6 separate regions of the Homo sapiens genome follow, and regions 1, 2, 3, 4 and 6 are each linked to region 5. The links are contacts of gene promoters, found by promoter capture Hi-C in blood cells and fetal thymus (Javierre and others, 2016). All regions are on one chromosome and are shown on one strand. The core of a region is centred on a gene start or on the middle of the fragment in contact, and the rest is flanking DNA. Distances in the headings are between cores, read along the strand shown.

What was found. Contacts are between HindIII fragments. The CHiCAGO score rates a contact against its expected background, and 5 or more counts as called.
Region 1: a contact is called between a fragment that was not itself captured here and the fragment with the promoter of DIO3OS in region 5, in 7 of 17 cell types (M1 macrophages, M0 macrophages, activated CD4 T cells and 4 more). The highest score is 11.0, in M1 macrophages.
Region 2: a fragment that was not itself captured here is called in contact with the fragment with the promoter of DIO3OS in region 5 in 13 of 17 cell types (M0 macrophages, naive CD8 T cells, activated CD4 T cells and 10 more); the score reaches 10.9 in M0 macrophages.
Region 3: a fragment that was not itself captured here is called in contact with the fragment with the promoter of DIO3OS in region 5 in 1 of 17 cell types (total B cells); the score reaches 5.2 in total B cells.
Region 4: a contact is called between a fragment that was not itself captured here and the fragment with the promoter of DIO3OS in region 5, in 5 of 17 cell types (total B cells, M1 macrophages, total CD4 T cells and 2 more). The highest score is 7.0, in total B cells.
Region 6: a fragment that was not itself captured here is called in contact with the fragment with the promoter of DIO3OS in region 5 in 11 of 17 cell types (erythroblasts, total CD8 T cells, M0 macrophages and 8 more); the score reaches 8.7 in erythroblasts.

What each region holds. Positions count from the first base shown.
Region 1 is chr14:100,830,508-100,833,207 of GRCh38, forward strand. MEG3 (maternally expressed 3) reads left to right here. Exons shown (of 10, transcript NR_190993.1): 4 at 914-1,027; 5 at 2,005-2,134. Among named protein-coding and RNA genes, the nearest start is that of MEG3, 5.7 kb to the left of the region's middle. RefSeq lists an enhancer at 146-647. The HindIII fragment of the contact is 839 bases long and covers 917-1,755 here.
Region 2 is chr14:100,851,488-100,854,571 of GRCh38, forward strand. All of the region lies in intron 9 of MEG3 (maternally expressed 3), which reads left to right. MIR770 (microRNA 770) reads left to right here and starts at 903; the gene lies at 903-1,000. The HindIII fragment of the contact is 756 bases long and covers 1,090-1,845 here.
Region 3 is chr14:101,012,507-101,015,596 of GRCh38, forward strand. The region is part of intron 4 of LOC124903407 (mucin-2-like); the gene reads left to right. Among named protein-coding and RNA genes, the nearest start is that of MIR379, 8.0 kb to the right of the region's middle. The HindIII fragment of the contact is 1,799 bases long and covers 883-2,681 here.
Region 4 is chr14:100,905,025-100,908,141 of GRCh38, forward strand. MEG8 (maternally expressed 8, small nucleolar RNA host gene) reads left to right here. Exons shown (of 51, transcript NR_146000.1): 6 at 1,074-1,139; 7 at 1,912-2,108. Among named protein-coding and RNA genes, the nearest start is that of RTL1, 2.9 kb to the left of the region's middle. The HindIII fragment of the contact is 1,853 bases long and covers 941-2,793 here.
Region 5 is chr14:101,559,164-101,561,863 of GRCh38, forward strand. DIO3OS (DIO3 opposite strand upstream RNA) reads right to left here and starts at 1,259. Exons shown (of 2, transcript NR_152588.1): 1 at 1,089-1,259. DIO3 (iodothyronine deiodinase 3) reads left to right here and starts at 2,332. Exons shown (of 1, transcript NM_001362.4): 1 at 2,332-2,700. The coding sequence starts at 2,334. MIR1247 (microRNA 1247) reads right to left here and starts at 1,259; the gene lies at 1,124-1,259. The HindIII fragment of the contact is 17,616 bases long and covers 1-2,700 here.
Region 6 is chr14:100,884,908-100,887,942 of GRCh38, forward strand. The region is part of intron 3 of RTL1 (retrotransposon Gag like 1); the gene reads right to left. Among named protein-coding and RNA genes, the nearest start is that of MIR136, 1.7 kb to the left of the region's middle. RefSeq lists a silencer at 785-1,079. The HindIII fragment of the contact is 160 bases long and covers 1,205-1,364 here.

The DNA of each region.
Region 1 (2,700 bases), core at 86-2,585, 730 kb before region 5:
CTCACATGTCCAGCCCAATTCTCCCTTAGTGAGAACAGCACTCAGTAGGTGCTGTGTGTGTTTGTGTTCAATTAAGAAATTCCAGAATAAATAAAAATGAATTAATTCAACAAACATTTTCTGGGGCACCGACAATCTGCCCAGTGCACCAGGCTAGGTATCTGATACAAAGATAATGAAAACAGTCTCTTGGAACCTAATTGGGGTCCTCATTTGACCAGGAATTTCTTTCGTCCCGTTTTAAGCCAACCAGTTTTGTCCGGACAAGACAAAAACAACTTGGGCTGCTTTAGAGAAGCCCAGCTCAGTGTAGACAATAGCTGCCCAGCCTCTGAAAGGGGCTGATTGGATTATGTGGCAAATGGAGGTGCAAGGATGACTTGGACGGTGACAAATGAAGTGGGCGGAGACCTGCTTTGAGTTAATCCAGGCTATTAGGAGGGGACCTTTTGTCTTCCAGAGACTGGCAGGAGCTTTTACCAGTGGTTTTTACATCCTTAATGTTCAGGACGAATAATTTATGGTCAGTGAAAATCCAGGCCCCAGTGAGATTCGAGTGGGCTGTAAAATCGAGAGTCCTGCTCCCAGTGAGTAATGGTAGTGAATGTTTCTGTCACTTTTTGCAACCGTCCATTCATTTGATCCTCACAACTCCCTGTCCTGAGCCAGGACCGGCCACTGCCACTCCCAGGGAAACAGAGGCTGTCAAGAGGCTCCACAGATTGGGCCCCACTGGATCATTGAACCCCTGTTCCCTGAGTTCTAGAGGAAGAATTGTACCTGTCTCAGTCCCGGCCACCTCCAGAAGGCCTCCCTCTGCATTTCTGACTTTGCTGTGCCGGCAGCCTGGAGCCTCCCAGGTCCCTGCTGTCATCTTTTCTAGCCACTACAGTCTCTGTCTTTCCTTTCACAGCCAAGCTTCTTGAAAGGCCTGTCTACACTTGCTGTCTTCCTTCCTCACCTCCAATTTCCTCTTCAACCCACTGCTTCCTGACTCGCTCTACTCCGTGGAAGCACGCTCACAAAGGTAAAGACTTTTCTGTGGCTTAATCCTTGTCATGTTTTCGGCTCATGGACACAAGGACACATTTTCATGCCTTCTCTCACAGGGCTCTGCGTCTCCGGTTCACTTCTGTGTCTTTACACTCCCTTCACAGAGACACTTGCTCCCCCTTCTCTCGTTCTTAGCATCCCCTAGGAACTTGCACACCCAGGTCTCTCGACTTCTGGACCTGCTTCTTACCATGCCGTCTTAAGCAGTCAGGAGTCGCTGCCTGGGTTCGAGTCCTAGTTAAATTACTTAGTGCTGAGACCTTGGGGTAGGTAAACTTTTCCAAGCCAGGTTTATCTCAGTTTCAAAATAGGGTTAATCGTCTTTATCTGGCAGGTCAGGTGGGATGTCTCACAGGTAAGCACCAGATGCCATTTGAAAGGCTTGAAGCAAAGTCAATAAAGCATTCATGGGAAAATACAACTGGAGGCACCACTAGATTTTCGTATACATTAGGTTCCCACGGGGAGGACCGAAGAGAGAAGAAAGAAGTGGAAAGGGAGGAGCGTGCAGGAGAGACAGGAGAAGAGAATAACTAAACAAAGACATTAAAGACAAAAAAAAAGTAGGAAAGGGAGACTTAGAAAATATTAAAAGCCACCAAAAACACATCCAAAGACGGTTTCCCCTTACGTTAGTTGGGCTAAAAGAAAGCAAATGGGAAGAAGGTTTTAAATTGATTATCCCAGTGACAAATCCCAGGAAGCTTTCACATCAAATCACCCTATTCTGGGTTTTTAACTCCTTCCATCGAGTTTAACCTCTTTACCTCCCACATCCTGGTAAACCCTGCCCCCTCCCTACCGCCCCCTTTGCTGGTGATTAAATCCTGAAGGTACACGAAGTATTTCAGTGAATGAATGGCTAACAGAAAAGGGCCTCCCCTCCCCCTTACCCTGGCGGTGTTTTTCAGTTTTATTCCACTTTCCGCCCTTTTCCCTTAATGAACACAGGGCTAATCTCGGGCCTTGTCGAAGGAAGAGGCTGCAGACGTTAATGAGGTTAGCTGCTGGATTCCAGTATTCGTCGCATAAGGATCCTTCTTTGTCTGCGAAGGAAAAACACACTGATTATCATAATGAGGTGAACTGGCCACCGCCGGGCCGGGGCGATGTGGCTTCTTAAGCCACACTTCTAATTTTGGTGATGGAGCCGACATTTCTTTGGCTTCTCATTTAAGTCTTTGCCTCTGTCCCAGTGCGAAGTCCATTCAGCGGGGTTGAAAGTTGCAGGCAGCTTTGGGAAGGGGGGCGTCGGACAGGGTTGCATTGTAGAAAGTGGCTTTGTTCGATCCTTCGCACAGATGCAAATGGCCAGAGCATTCATTCCCTTTCTTCAAGAGCTGAGGACTGGGGGGGCCACTGGTGATCAGTTCCCAACTCTAGCTCTCCTCTGACTCATCTCAGGACCCATTGAGGACATCCAAAACTCACTCAAGATCACCAAGTGGTAGGAAAGTACTAACTCCTGGGCATAGCCCTAGGGGAGTGACTACAATGTGAATACTCATGGAATGCCTAGCCAGGTGAAGAAGTGAATGCATGTTGGCATCCCAGAGGGACCCCCCTTAAGAGGGCATAGTTTGGGGTTCAGATTTGACTCCAGCATACTGTTGAAATTGGGCACAGGGGGCTAGTGATTAGTCAGGA
Region 2 (3,084 bases), core at 218-2,717, 710 kb before region 5:
CCAGGAGCCCTGGGCAAGCCACCAGAAACCTTGTTCTTGCAACTCTCTGCAGTGTGCCCAGGCCACCCTCTGGCCTGGTCTTCCATGGGGCAGGGCGCCCACCCTTCTCAACTCAGGTTTCCCTGGGCAGCAGGTGCACCTCAGCACCCCTGGGGTTGCAGAAGTGGTCCGGGGACCCTGGCTTCCTTGACATGCCATCCCCAGAGCCTGGTTCAAGGCCTCTCTGTCTTCTCGGCTGTTTCACGACGTGTTTTGTAACTTGGCGGGATTGCGTTTCGCTGTGTCGAGGTTGTCTCTTCTCTGACTCGCCCTCCGGGGGACTGCCGGGGTAAATCTGGAGAGTTGCTCGTGCTGACAGTCCTCCCCCAGGGCCTCCCCGGTTCTGTTGAGTCTCCTTTCTCTGTAGTGGAGGAAATGTGTGTAGTTTTGTGTTGTGTGCCTGTGTTTGTCTGTAAAAGCAAGGACCAAAGTCTCCCTTGTTGACCTCTCAATTCCTATTTGGGACATATAAAAACACTGGATTCTTAACAAGCGCCCGGAGCAGTAGGAGCACAGCTTGGATGGACTCAGGACTTGTGGCAGGGAGCACGTGGGAGGCAGGGGAGTGGGGTGGGGCCAGGCCATCTGGAGTGGGAGGCGTCATGCTCAGAGTGACTCTGTAGACGCTGGGTGGGATGGGGAGTGCGGGCGCAGGCATGGATGGGGCTGTTAGCTAGTGTGATGCTTGAGGTCTGAGCTGATGGCAGCAAAGTGGGGTGCTCAGGAATCAAAGCTATGGGGTTATAGACAGGATATGAAGGAGGGAGGGAGGCAAGAAGAAGGGGGTGGTTCCCACGCTTCTAGCTCCGGCCGAGTGGATGGCAACAGCATTTGGAAGGCGGAGGACATGGAATTCATGTGTCAGGAGCCACCTTCCGAGCCTCCAGTACCACGTGTCAGGGCCACATGAGCTGGGCCTCGTGGGCCTGATGTGGTGCTGGGGCCTCAGGGGTCTGCTCTTCTTCTCTTTCAGAATCTGGGGCTCCAGGCTATGCCTTGGCTGGACTGAGGTCTGGGGGTGCACTTATTATCCCTGGGGACACCTGCTGAAGCTTCTCCCTGACAAGCTGTGTCACTGTTGGATGAGGATGGGGCGGGAGGGGTTCAGGGCAGAAGAAGACCGGGAGGGTCTTTCAAAAGAACTCATGTACGGCTGTTAAAAAAAGTCAGCAGAGGCTCAGGAAGACTTAAAGTGTGCAGAAGGCGGGGAAGGGAGGGCCCATTGCATGCACCAAGAGGAAATTGGAAGGAACAAGCGACGTTGGCTGCTAGGAGAGCCTGCTCCCAACATCTAGGGGCTGTCCTGACGGGTCACAGTGGGTCGAACTGAGCCAATGAGAGCAGCTCTGGGGAGACCCACTGGTGCCCTGGAGGCTGGGTGGGTTTGGGTTGGATGAATTCTGTGTGTCCTTTTGGAAATGTGGAGGCCATGAGGGGGGATCAGGGCTCTTAGGGTTTTGACCCTTAAGAGTTTTGTATCTGTAATTCAAAGGTTCTTTAGTTCTGGGATGCTGAGATTCGGGATAGGGTTCCTAATGGCACAAAAGCCAGAGATAAAACATCCTTCACGTGCTCCCTACCCGGTTCTTTCTGTACCAGACCCACAAGGTCCGAGTTGGGATCCTAGTGCTCCTGTCTGGTCAGGGCCTATCTTTATGTGTTCGTTAAACTTTTAACAATGAGAATTAATTCTGTCTCTTGACATTGTCATTTGCATGCTCCCCACACACAAATCCTTTCCTGGTGACACCAGGAGCTACAACTCTCCTTGGCCTCCTCTTGTGACTCCCAACTCCCTCCTTGGGAAGCTTGGCCTCAGGACCTCTGGGATAGACAGGCCACGAATCCTGCTGTGTCCCGTTGTGTTCCTAATATAAATGGTGTGGATGGCACTTGACCTAGAGCAGTGGGAAATGCATGCACCACTCAACATTCTGACATGTCACCCATTTTACATTCTTACAGGCATACTTTTTTTAAAAAAAGAGTGTCTATTCTTTAATGAGCATCCCTTCTTTAAAAAAACCTAATTGCCATTATTCACCACATACACTTTTTTTTTTTTGTATCCTGCCTCTTCTATTTAATTTTCTGTCATCAACATTTTCCCTTGTTCCATGAATCTTCATAACCTCACTTGCTGCGTTGTGCCTTGTTGAGTGGCTATGGCATCATTCACAGAACCATTCTGTTATTCTTATGTATAACCACCTTTTAAAAATATTATGAATAATGCCACAACTAACTGCTTAAAACACCCTTTTTTTCATTCTTAAGAATTATGTTCTTCCACCCAGAAATTATCATTGCTTCACTACAGATCAGTTTCCCCTGCTAGACTGTGAGCCCCATAAGGGCAAGGAGCTTATTGAATTGGCCTTTGTATCTCTGATGCCCAACATGTTGTAGACTATAAATAAATGATGAATGAGTGGATGGAAGAATGGAGGAAGGAGCGAGTGAGTGAGTGTTTGGCTGATGGATAAGAGGGTGGAAGGATAGGCGGAAGGATGGATTGGTGAATGAATGAATGAATTTCCTTTGGTTAAGTCTCTTGAAAGAAAGGCTATGGATCTTTGTATGGATGTTGAATAATTTCAGTAAGCTTACAGCATTTTACAATGTTCAGCAATGTATGACCACTTAATTAAGATATGGCTAGTTTGTCTCTGTTATAAAGTACTTTTGCATTACTTTAACTTGCATTGCTTTAATTACTAATGATGGGTGAACACTTTGACCTATGTTTGTTAACAAATTGTATTTTATCTTCTGTGAACTGTTTGTCCAAGTCCTTTGGGTCATGGCTTTCTGAAGAGACTGGTCCCAGATGTCCTTGGGATGTAGGGAGCCCATAGCTCACTGGAGGCATTCAAGGAACCAGCCAGGCAGCCCTCAGAGAAAGTAGTGTTTAGGAGATTCTCATGGTGTGGGGTTGGCCTAGGTGGCCTTTCAGGTCTGTTTGATGTTAGGATTTGCTTCTCCCTGGGAAGTGGGTGATGGGGAAAAAGACACCTTCCATTGGCAGGTGTAGACACTGCAGGC
Region 3 (3,090 bases), core at 532-3,031, 550 kb before region 5:
GTCTTAAGTCTTTGTGATTCCTCATCCCTTCTATGTGATTTTTTTTTCTTCCTTTCTGGAACTTGTAGAACTTTCTCATTGTCTTCCAGTGTTTTAAAATTTCATGTGTTTGTGTCTTGATGTGTATCTATGTTTATCCATTTTTCCAGGTTCTTTTAACCTTGAAGATACTTGTCCTTCAGTTCTAGAAACTTGTCTTGAACAACTGGTTGGATCATTTCCTCACATTTGTTTTCTCTTCTTAGCATTTTCTTTTCTTTTCTTTCTCTTTTCTTTCTTTCTTTCTTTTTTTTTTTTTTTGATGGAGTTTCACTCTGTTGCCCAGGCAGGAGTGTAGTGGCATGATCTTGGCCCACTGCAACCTCTGCCTCCTAGTCTCAAGCAATTCTCCTGCCTCAGCCTCCCAAGTAGCTAGGATTACAGGCGTGTGCCACCACGCCTGGCTAATATGTGTATTTTTGGTAGAGATGGGGTTTCATCATGTTGGCCAGGCTGGTCTTGAACTCCTGACCTCAAGTGATCCACCCACCTTGGCCTCCCAAAGTGCTGGGATTACAGGCATGAGCCACCGTGCCCAGCCTCTCTCTTCCTAGCATTTCTATTGTTTGTATGTTGGAACTCCTGACTAGTTTTGTAATATTCCCATATTTTTCCTTTGATTTTCAACTTTTAATATTCATGTTCTGTTTCTAAGAAGGATTTCCCTATCTTTATGTTTTAACTTATTTTCATTTCTGCTTTCATATTTCTAATTTTTAATTTTTAAATTATATTCTAAATATTATATAACAATTTGTTTTATGAATGCAATTGCTTCTTTAATATCTCTGATAATATTAATAATAGGTCTTTTGAAACTTTTTTCTCCCTGCAGAGCAGGCAAGCTTTGTTCAGTTTACCACTTAGAACTGGAAATCGTTTACCCATGTTGCTCTGTAGGTGTGTTCATTTTTAATTTTGATTTTGTAAGGCCTTTTTAACAAGAATAGTAACTCTTTTTATATCATATGTTACCAGGATCCCCCACTTTTTCATCTGCCATTTCATTTTGTTGATAAATTATTTTTTATTTTAAAAATTACTATGTTCTAAAAATTTATCTTTAATTTTTCCTTACAGTTTCTTCACTTGAATTTTTCTTTTAGCTCAGAAAGTCCTTTCCCAAACTGAACTTTAATTTTTTTTTTAGTTCTTTCATGATTTCATCTTTTATATTTGAATCTTTACTTATCATCTTAATTATTGTGAGAAATAACTATTTGTTCCACTTCCACATTTAATACATGCTAGATACTTTTATAGCTCGGGTTCTTGTTCTGGTTTTCTATTATCCATTGCTTTGTCATTGCTTTATTTTAGTATATTGTATTGTTAAAATGTGTTATTACTCAGTAGCAATAGTCTTCCTTAATTCTTATTTTTCAAGATTTTCTCCGTTAGTCTTATTTGTATATTCTTTCAGATGAACTGTAGTGATATTGTAAAGTTAAAAACATTCTTTATGGATATTGTGTGGAACCTTATAAAACTGTCAATTAATTTAAAGAGAGTTGATATTTTTTGAAACAGGCTTTGCATGATATTTTGAGTTTTATGTATACATATATATTCATAAGTTGTCAAATTCGACAGATTCACAATTTGTTATTTTTATCTCAAGGAATTAAGTATGGCTTCTATTGTGAATTTGATCCACTTTCTTTATATTTTCTAACTGGTTGTTATTGGTATGTAGGGAAATGTCTGTATATTTATTGTTACTGTTCATCTCACTGAATTCTCTAATTTGTTCTACAAGTTTCTAGTTGAGTGTTTTGGAACTTCTAGGTAAAGAGTCATTCATGGCTGGGCATGGTGGCTAACGCCTGTAATCCCAGCACTTTGGGAGGCCCAGGTGGGCGGATCACCTGAGGTCAGGAGTTCGAGACCAGCCTGCCCAACATGGCGAAACCCTGGCTCTACCAAAAATACAAAAAACTTAGCTGGGCATGGTGGTGGGTGCCTGTAATCCCAGCTACTCAGGAGGCTGAGGCAGGAGAATTGCTTGAACCCGGGAGGCGGAGGTTGCAGTGAGCCGAGATTGTGCCACTGGACTCCAGCCTGGGTGACAAGAGCGAAACTCCATGTCAAAAAAAAAGGGTCATTCATATCTATATATAATGCAATTTTTGTCTGTCACTTTATCTCATCTATTTCTTTTCCTTTGACTAGATCTTCTAAAACATTATATTATTGATAACAGAAATCTTGTCTTGTTTCTGGTTCACTTTTAAGTATGGTTGCAAATCATTTTTTAGTTGAGATTTTTTAAATAAATGAAGTATTTATACCTAGTTAATATAAGACTTTAAATCAGGATTGGAGTTAGAATTTTATGAAATGCTTTTTTGATATCTGCAGATATCATGTTGTTTTTCTCTGTTGATCTGTTGATACAATAAGCTAATGTTTCGTAACTTTGAAACATTTTTGATTGAATTCTACTTGATTATGGTGTATTGTTGTTTTAATACACTACAAGATTTGCTGGGCTAATATTTCATTTAGAATTTTCCAAATCTATTTGTTGTTGAATTTGGGTGTCAAAGTTATGCTGACTTTGTAAAATAAATTAGGGAACATTCCATCTTTTTCTATGTTCTGTACCATATATGCATTATTTGAATGATTTAGTCCACGAAAGCTTGAAAGAACTCACGTATGTAACTATCCTGGGATAAGTCTTTGGTAACGTCTCTTATTTCTTCTGTATTTATTGGATTCTTTAGGTTTTCTACGTCTTTAGAATTTTTGCTTCTTTTTCTAACATAGCTCAGCGTTTAAATGCGCAGGCACTGGAATTAGACAAATCCAGTTTAAGATTTTGGCTCTCTCATTTTCCATATGATGGGGAAACTGTGTCACCTCCCTAGTTCTTAGTTTCCTCACCTGTTAAATGGTTAAAACGAAAGCCTCCGAGGGCCCTAACAGGACCAGCGTGAGGATTCAGAGATAAAGTACCTTGCACTGGTTCTGGCACATAATGAGTGCTCAATAATGTTTTTAGATATTATTTATCCTAGAAAATAATAGATTTTTCTGAGATTTAAA
Region 4 (3,117 bases), core at 617-3,116, 650 kb before region 5:
GGACGGAAAGGAGGGCTACAGAGATAGGGGAAGAGTGGGGCTGAGGATAGCCAGAGCGGCTTGGCACACAGTTTTAGGGTAAAAGCATCAACTCTTATCTTTCCAAAAGAAATAAAAAAGCCAAAAAAAAAAAAAAAGGCATTTGAAAGCTAGACAGCTGAATCCTTCCCAGCATGACTGAGCCGGTCACTCCAGGGTCTTCCTTCAAAGCGTGTCTAATGGGAGACAGCGTTGTCCCAGTAACCAAATTGGGACCAGAGTCCCAGGGAAGGGCTCATCAGGTGGCCGCTCTGCCTTGAAGAGTGGTACCCTCAGGCCCTTTTCCAGCCAGGGGTCAGGGAGAGAGCTGGAGGGCTCGGGGAGGCAGGGACTGGGAGGGAGAGTGGGGAGAGGAGCGCTGGGGGCTGCAGGAGGGTCTCTGGGCAGCTGGCGGGTGTCTCGTTCCGCAACACTCTGCACCCTGGTACATCGTCCTCCGTCCACTCAACGTGGAATGATTCTCTTCCCTCTGGATCCAGCCCCTCTAGTTCCCTTTTCACTTTGAGGCATTTGCCCCCTGTGAATCAGTTCCCTGCTACTCCAGAAAATTTCTCTCATACCCCAGGCCCCTCTGTTCTTTTAAATGGCACCCTTCACCCCCAGCCCTTCATCTTCTGCACTGTATTTTCACTTGTTGATTTAAAAATCCCTTTATTATGGGAAATTGCAAACAACACAAAAGTAGAGAAAATAGTACGTATTTTTACTGTTTACTCAATTTTCATCTTGCCATTACCCGGACACGGTTGCCGTCAAACCCTGGCCCCTCTTGTTTCATCTAAACCCTAAACTGTCCCTCTACTCCCACTGCCCAACCCCTACCCCTGGACTATTTCGAAGCAAATTTCAGACACCATCCTGTTTCCTCTGAGCATTTTTTAGTTTGTATCTCTAAATAAGAAGCTTTTGTTTCTTAAAAATAAAACCACAACACCATTATCACAAGTTAAAAAATTAATAGCCTTTCCTTAATATCATCCACCATCTATGTAGCATTCCAATATTCTTGATTGACTCATAAATTTCTTTTACAGTTGGCTTGGTCAAGTCAGTGTTCAAACTATCTCCTGCTCTTTCAAGGGGATCTGGGGCTCTAGAAGGTAAGTATGGCTACACATTTAGGGGTTGAATATCTGCCTGGACCTTAAATGAGAAACTCAACCTCAGCAAACCTCAGTGTTCTCACTGAAAATGGGGCAAGTTCTGGGTCTCTCCTTGGGTCATTGAGAGGGTTAGAGCATTAACCCCTGAAGCCCCAGCCGCATGTCTAATATGTCAGAGACACTCAGCAAACAGTAGCTGCGAGAATGATTCTTTTTCCCAGAAACGTTTAAAGGGGATTTGGGCAGGGGCAGGCAAAACATAGCTGGCTATTGTCCATAAAACAAAAGGCTCCTGGCAGTCCAGGTCCCCTGAGTGGTTAAAACAGCACATGCACTACATCCCAAAAAGGGCAGCCTACAGTCTGGGGGCTGGGTTCGCCTGGACCTCCTGGCTTGCCGTTTAGCTGCCTGACCTCAGCTGTTGTGACCTGGGACCAACAGGGGACCCCGGCAGGTGCCTATCCACTAGATGGCACTCTCTACTGTGAGTCCAGGGGGGACCACCACCCCAAACTGCTTTGGCCACTGCCCAGCCCTGGGTGCCACCGGAAGATGCACACCACTAAAACATCGCAGATAATTTCTAAAAAGCACTTCTCAACATGTCATGCAAAAGATGCGGTGGTTTATTTCCTTGCATAAATCCCAACCAGATTGCAGAAGCAGAGGGAATGAACATTTAATGACTTTGCTGAGGCCAGACACTGGTATGTCTACGCTCTCTTTAAATCCTCATCCCAGCGACATCTGATTTCCCTTCATTTTACAGATTAGAGGACTTGGAGAGGTTAGTGACTTGCTCGAGGTCGGCTAGGAAGCAAGACCCAGGATTCCAACTCAGGTCTGTGTGATTCCTCTGCAAAATGGAGAGGTGGAAGGATGGATGTCAGGTCTGATGGATGGATGGATGCCTACATCAAGATACATGCATAGATGGAGAGATGGCTGGCTACCTCATGAATGCTGGTAAGATGGATGAGTGAATTGAAGCACAGGTGGTGGAAGGAGAGAGGAATGAGAGAGGATAGTCAATTTCCCACCAAGATCAAAGGCTTACTTGATCTTTGAAGAGAGGTTCCCTCTGAATGGAGCTTGCTGGTGAAGCTCCTGCCTTCTGTTCTGCTTCTGAGCGCACTGACTGGCTCAGGTGGCTCTGGGACAACAGGTGGGATGCCAGCTTACAGGGACCAAGTCCCAGCTGTGGTGCTGGAGCTGCTCAGTGGCAACTCTCCGTCTCTGCTGCTTTCACGCAGCACTGACGAAGAGCAGGCATCCGCCTTTCCACTGGCTCTCCTGGATGACTAAGCCCTAAGCCCCAACCGCATACTCAGCCCTTCACTGGCACTTGGCATAATTTTATCTCCTCTAAATCATCACAGCCACCCTCCATGATAGCAATTTCTATTCTCAATTAAGTGAAAAGGAAACCGAAGTTTAGGAGTGGTAAGTGACTTACCCAAAATCGTATAAGGAGGAAATGCAGACCCAGGATTTGAACTCGAGTCTTCTTTCCTTCCAAACTCATCCCCTCAACCTGTTTATTTCCTTTTCTCTATGACCATGTCTGAAGAAATCTGCCTTGGGGTTGTCTCATATTGGACTCACTCTCTTGGTCTGTCAGTGAGCTGAACTTCTCATCCAATCAAATCCAAGCTTATTTCCCAAGTAATATCTCTAGTGTATTCTATTTGTAATGATCACACAGGCAAGGGCCACACATATCACTGGCATCCTACAGTACAATTAATCAAGTCAAATTAGATTCCTGGCATCTCATATTCTGACTGAATGCTAATGGTAGTAGATGTAAAAATGACTCCAGTGCAAGGCAAGGAGGGAGGGGACTGGATGTAGGGCTGAATGGCGAATCAGTAAGCCTTGCTGCAGACCTGGGTTAACATTAGCAGATAGGTTTTGAGAACCTGCTCATGGGCTAGGCCCTACTTCACACATTCTAGGTGCTAAGGTTTCAATC
Region 5 (2,700 bases), core at 9-2,508:
AACCCTCAACACCCCTTGACTCTGCCCAGGAGGAGCAACCTCAGAAGCCCCCCCAAACCTCCTCTCAGAGACCTGCCGAGTAGGAGGCTTCTCTCTCTACTCTCCTCCCCGCAAAAAAGAGGCCAGAAAAGAGGATGATTGGCTAACTCAGAGGTGCCCTGATGGAGGGGAGCAAACAAGGGGACTTCCAAGGAGAATTCCCTAGCCCACCTGAAAGACCCCTACCCAGAGTGGTGAGGGGCAGCTTAGGAGCACTGACGCAAGGGGGAGAGACCAGGCTGGCTTCCCTCTACGTAGTAAGTTCCTGGGGTGTGCGCCCCTGCCCCAGACAGCAGAGAAATCGCCTGACTGGGAGATGGAGAAGAGGGGCCACCTTCTCATGCCACCCCGCCGCCAATCCTCCAGGCACACTCGGGCGCTTGACCTGCTGAAGCCTGTAGCCTCAGGTCCAGTGAGGAGCTCACGGGACAGAGGGCCCTACCAGAGCCACGAAAACCGGAGGGGGGGACCTCCGCCCAAGGCAGGCGTCTCTGCGCGCCCGCTGGGGCCCTGGTCCTGCAGTTGGCTTCTCCCGACACGTTCCTTCGCTGCCGAAAGCGATTCGCCCGCGCTCTACCGAGCCCAGCCAGCTCCTACCTCGGCCCGGGCGGCGAGCGCTGTCTCCGTCCCGAGAAGAAGTTTCGCGGCTGGTCCCGGGGCGGCAGGCGCACGGGACGCTGGCGGCGGCGGCGGCTTCCGACTTGGGCTCAGACCCCGCCGCTCCAGACAAGTCCCCGCGACTGCGACAGTGTCTCGGGCAGTTCAGCTCCCCAGACGGGAGACAGACCCTCGCGACCTGGTTCAGGCCTTGCCCTGGGGGACACTGCAGTCCAAGGCGAAAGGAGACTTGCTCCCGGCCTCTGGGTCCCTAGGTCAAGGCACCTCCCCGCCCCGCCGCCCCTGAGCCCAAGTCGCCAACCCCGCGCCGCGCGCAGCGAGGGATCAGAAGGTCTCGGACGCCGCGGCAGGGCCGGCCAGGGCCCCACGAGTTAGGGAGTTGCCCCGCACCCCTAAACGCTCAGCACCCATTTACGGTTGAAAGTACGCACTTGACGCGTCCGGGCGCCTCCGCGGTGAGTCGCGCCGCCGCTCTCGGGGTCCGCGAAGGTGGCTCAGTTCGGGCGCTCCAGTCTCGACGTTCCCGGGGTAGAGAGCAACGTCCGGGGACGAACGGGACGGGTGCGCCCAGCGGCCGGGGCTGCGCTGGGCGAGGCAAGCGGCGAGAGGGGAGCGCTCCGGCGTTCAGGCAACAGCTACCCCTAGTGGGAGAGCCGCCCGGGGCCGGCGCCGCCCCGCGCCCGCTGCCCCGCGCCCCACGCCCGTGGCGCCCCGCGCCCGGGTCGGCTGGGGGCGCAGGGCCGGCGCCGCTTTCCCCAGCTCTCCGGTCTCCGGCGCCCGGCGGTAACCCGCCCGCGGGCTCTGCCCTCCGCACCTCTCAGCCCGGCCCCGGCGGCCGCTGACCCAGGAACCGCGGCGCCCCGCTGGAACGAGATGGGACGGGGCGGGCGCGGCCAGGGCGGCGCGGGCTGGGGCGGCGCGCGGCAGCCTCGGGCAGCGGCGGGGGGCGCGGAGCGCGGTGTGCGTGGCGGGGCGGTGCGGGGGGCGGCCGTGTGCGAGGCGCGAGTGTGAGCGCGCGCGGGAGGCGGGCGGGCGGGCTCCGGCAGGCGAGCGGCGCCCGCGGGCGAGCCAGGAAGGCGGCGGGAACGCAAAGTTGCCTCCTCGCTGGCCCGCGTCCTCGGTGGGGCGGGAGCCGGGGCCACCGAAGCGGCGGCCGCGGACCCGGCCTCCCGCGGCACCTGGGCAGCGGCCCCGCACGAGCGGCAGCGGCGTGGGCGGCGTTGGCGGCGGCGCGCGGGAAGCGAACCGGAGCTCCGGCGCGGCTCGGCGGCCGCCGGGGAGCTCGGCTCAGGTGCGCGGCGAGGGGGGCGCGGGCCGGAGCCAGGCGGCGGGGACCAGGGCGGCGCGCAGCGCTCGCGCCAGCTGGAGGACCTCCCCAGCGGACGCCCAGGTCCCTGGTCGGGCTCCCGGTCCCCAGCGGCAGCGGCTGCCGGAGTCCCCCGCCCCCGAGAGCTGGCTGCGGGGCCCGGGCCCGCCCCCACCGGCCCCAGGCCCGGCCGCTCCGCCCTCCGCCCGCCTGCGCCCGCCCTCAGCCCAAGATTTCTAGGGCATTGGCCGCGCTGCTGGGTGATCCCTCCGGGCTCAAGTTGCAAGGGGGCGGGCCGGGCCGGAGGTGGAGTCTCCCGCCAATTGAAGCCTCCGCTATAAATTGAACTCCCTGCACTGCTGAAGCCCAGATGCCTCGCCAGGCCACGTCGCGGTTGGTGGTCGGAGAGGGCGAGGGGTCCCAGGGGGCTTCGGGGCCTGCAGCCACCATGCTCCGCTCCCTGCTGCTTCACTCCTTGAGGCTCTGCGCCCAGACCGCCTCGTGCCTCGTGCTCTTCCCGCGCTTCCTCGGCACGGCCTTCATGCTCTGGCTTCTCGATTTCTTGTGTATCCGCAAGCATTTCCTGGGCCGCCGCCGCCGGGGGCAGCCCGAGCCCGAAGTGGAGCTCAACAGTGAAGGCGAGGAGGTGCCTCCCGATGACCCGCCCATCTGCGTGTCCGACGACAACCGCCTGTGCACCCTGGCGTCGCTCAAGGCGGTGTGGCATGGCCAGAAGT
Region 6 (3,035 bases), core at 35-2,534, 670 kb before region 5:
CAGTAGTTTAGGATCTTGTGAAGTGGCAGTATCAGGGTCTCAAGGACAAATCAGATGCCCAACTAATCAGAGCAGAGAGAAATGGGGGAAAGCCTTCTTGTATCGAGCCAGCCTCTTTGGCTGGTCACTTGGGGTGCCCCCAGGGAGGGAAGATCTGTCAACCCCTGACCTGCCTCCCAGGCTTATTCAGTCTGCCTGTCCTGTCCTTTTCCTCCATAGATGTGAGAAATTCACAGCCCATAAATTCTGTGGCTGGGAGCAGCCACCGTGGCAGGCGGGTACCTGGCAGGGTGCACAGGCTGCTCCATTCCCCCCTGGCACATGCACCTGGTCAATCCTCTTTTCCTGCTTTGGTCACCTGAGAATCACAGAGGTCACATCTCAGCACCATCCAAAGCCACCCCTGGCAGGCTCAGGGCTCTGGAGCAAGCCCAGCCACCTTGGTTGTGGAGCGGGAATCTCTAGCAAAGATGCCTACTGTTTCACCAGTGCAGTGGAAGAGGAGAAAATGGGCACTTGGCCACTGTCCCGTCAGTTGGGTCAGCAGCCCAAAATAGTTCTTATTTCCTTCCCCATGTTCAAAATAGAAATTTCAGGGGGTGTGTACAGGTCTGGGTTTTTTTTTTTTTTTTCCATAAATTTTATAACATACCTACTATGTGCTGGATAACTGCATATTTGTTACTTGATTCTAACTCAGACTTTTGGCCAATTTCTCTTTCTCGATTTGGTCTCCTTCCAATGCTATGTTCTCCCGACCTCTGAGCTGTTGAGGAGATCTTCAAATAATCTCCTTCTCTTCCTACAATCTCCACTCTCCCAGGACTGCCCTCTTTGTGAGGCTTCTGGAACTTCACACATCTGGCCTCAATTTCACCAGTGCAAGCATATCTGCACGCCTCTCCAATCTTATCCTCCCAGGTCCCCTTCTTAACGCCAGTGGGTCTGGTCTCCTCTTTCTAGCAAATATCTTTTTCTCTCTGTTGCTGGTTGAGCCCTCCCAACAGACATGTATCTGGCAGAGTTGGGACATTGAGTGTGGGGGTTGGGGGGAACATGTGACATCTTTGGAATCTGACGGTCCCAGAGTGGATTTTTGGAAATCTAGTGTTGGGTGGTTTTAGTGGGCTGAGACAGAATTGAAAGGGAATGTCTTGGTTGGGGTTATTTGCACATTTCTTCTCTGCTGGGGCAGAGCAAATTAAGCTTTGATTATCTGATAGATTAACTGTAAAGCTACTGCTCTTTATAAATTTAACACCTTTTGTTACTTCTGAGTTTTCTTCTAAGCCACTGGACCCATCCGTAAAAAAAAAAAAAAAAACTGCGTTCCCCCTTACGTGAAACTCATTGGCTAAAATCCAAGCTTTCCAACAGGATACAAAATTCAGATCTGCTGTTTCTCAAAATTAAGTACACCCTTGTTAGCATGACACTTAAATTTGATCATGCAGTCTCTCTGATTAAAGCCTTCCACTGTTTATTTACTGTCTGCAATATTAAATCCAAACCTTCTAGCGTAAACATATCTGACATGTAAACTCACCAAAACTATTCTCTGGTTAAAATGTAAGGGCCTTAATATAATATAAAATTCTTATTTTGTCATTCCTCAAGGTAGAGATCACATTTTTTTAAAGCACAGTATACAAATCAGCATGGTATAGGAATTATAAGAATCATCATCATCATCATCATGATGTACATAGCACATTGCAGAAATTAACTCATTTCCTCTCCATAAAAGTCCTCTGAGATATGCATTATTACTGTAAAATTCCAAACCTCTAATATAAAATTCTAATTGAAATACAAATAAATAATTCTAATTGAAATACAAAAACTAAGTAATTCATCTGCAGACTTATCTATCAGGAATAAAAATCTCAGCATGTCTCTCACTTAAAACTCTTTATTGGTGAAAATTTAAATTTCTTAGCAAGACGATTTAAAAACTAGATTATGCCCCCTCTTAATATAAAGTCTACACTGCTTAACATATTTACAAATTCGACCATGTGAATGATTAAATCCTTCAATGTTCCTGCCTTCAGCTCAAAATCTAATATCCTCGGCATGTTAGAAAAATCTTAATACTTCTTAACATCAAAGTTTAAACTGTTAGCAAGATGAATAAAGGTCATCTCATAATTTCTCTATTTAACACATATAAAAATTCATTTTTATTGCCTGTAAAGTTTCAACCACTTAGCATAAAATGAAAATTTTCACCGTGTAATTTACTTGCCAACTGATTAATACGAACCCCCAAATCTCATCAGGTCACTCCTAAAACCCTTTATTGGCTTAATTCCAAACCTCTTCGCATGATATAAAATTCTGACCATGTCATTCCTCAAAATAAAAAGGTCACTCTCCCTTGCAAGATACACGAATTTGCTCTTATAACTTCTGCTTAAAGCTTTATTCTATCTCTTAATTACCTATGAGATAAGGTCTAATTATTTTTAGCATAGAACAATACATTTTACTATAAAATTTCTCTGACTACTCTACCCAAGACAAAATTTCTGCCATGTTACTGCCTTAAAAATCTCTTAATGAGCCAGGCACGGTGACTCACAGCTGTAATCCCAGCACTTTGGGAGGCCAAGGCAGGTGGAACACTTGAGGTCAAGGGTTCTAGGTCAGCCTGGCCAACATGGTGAAATCCTGTTTCTACTAAAAATACAAAAATTAGCCGGGAGTAGTGGCTCATGCCCGTAATCCTAGCTACTTCTCCTAGGCTGAGGCGGGAGAATCGCTTGAACCTTGGAGGTTGCAGTGAGCCGAGATTGCGCCGCTGCACTCCAGCTTGGGCAACAGAGGGAGATTCCCTCTCAAAAAAAAAACAAGACTCTTAATGGCTGAAGTCCAAATTCCTTAGCATGGCATAAAAATGTAATTCTGTCATCCCTCAAAATAGTGTCCAAACTTCTTAGCATGCTATGTAAATTTAATCATATAACTTCTTTTTATAAAAACATGCTTTGTCTATAAATGACCCGTCTCCTCAGCATGGAGCCCAGCCTGGG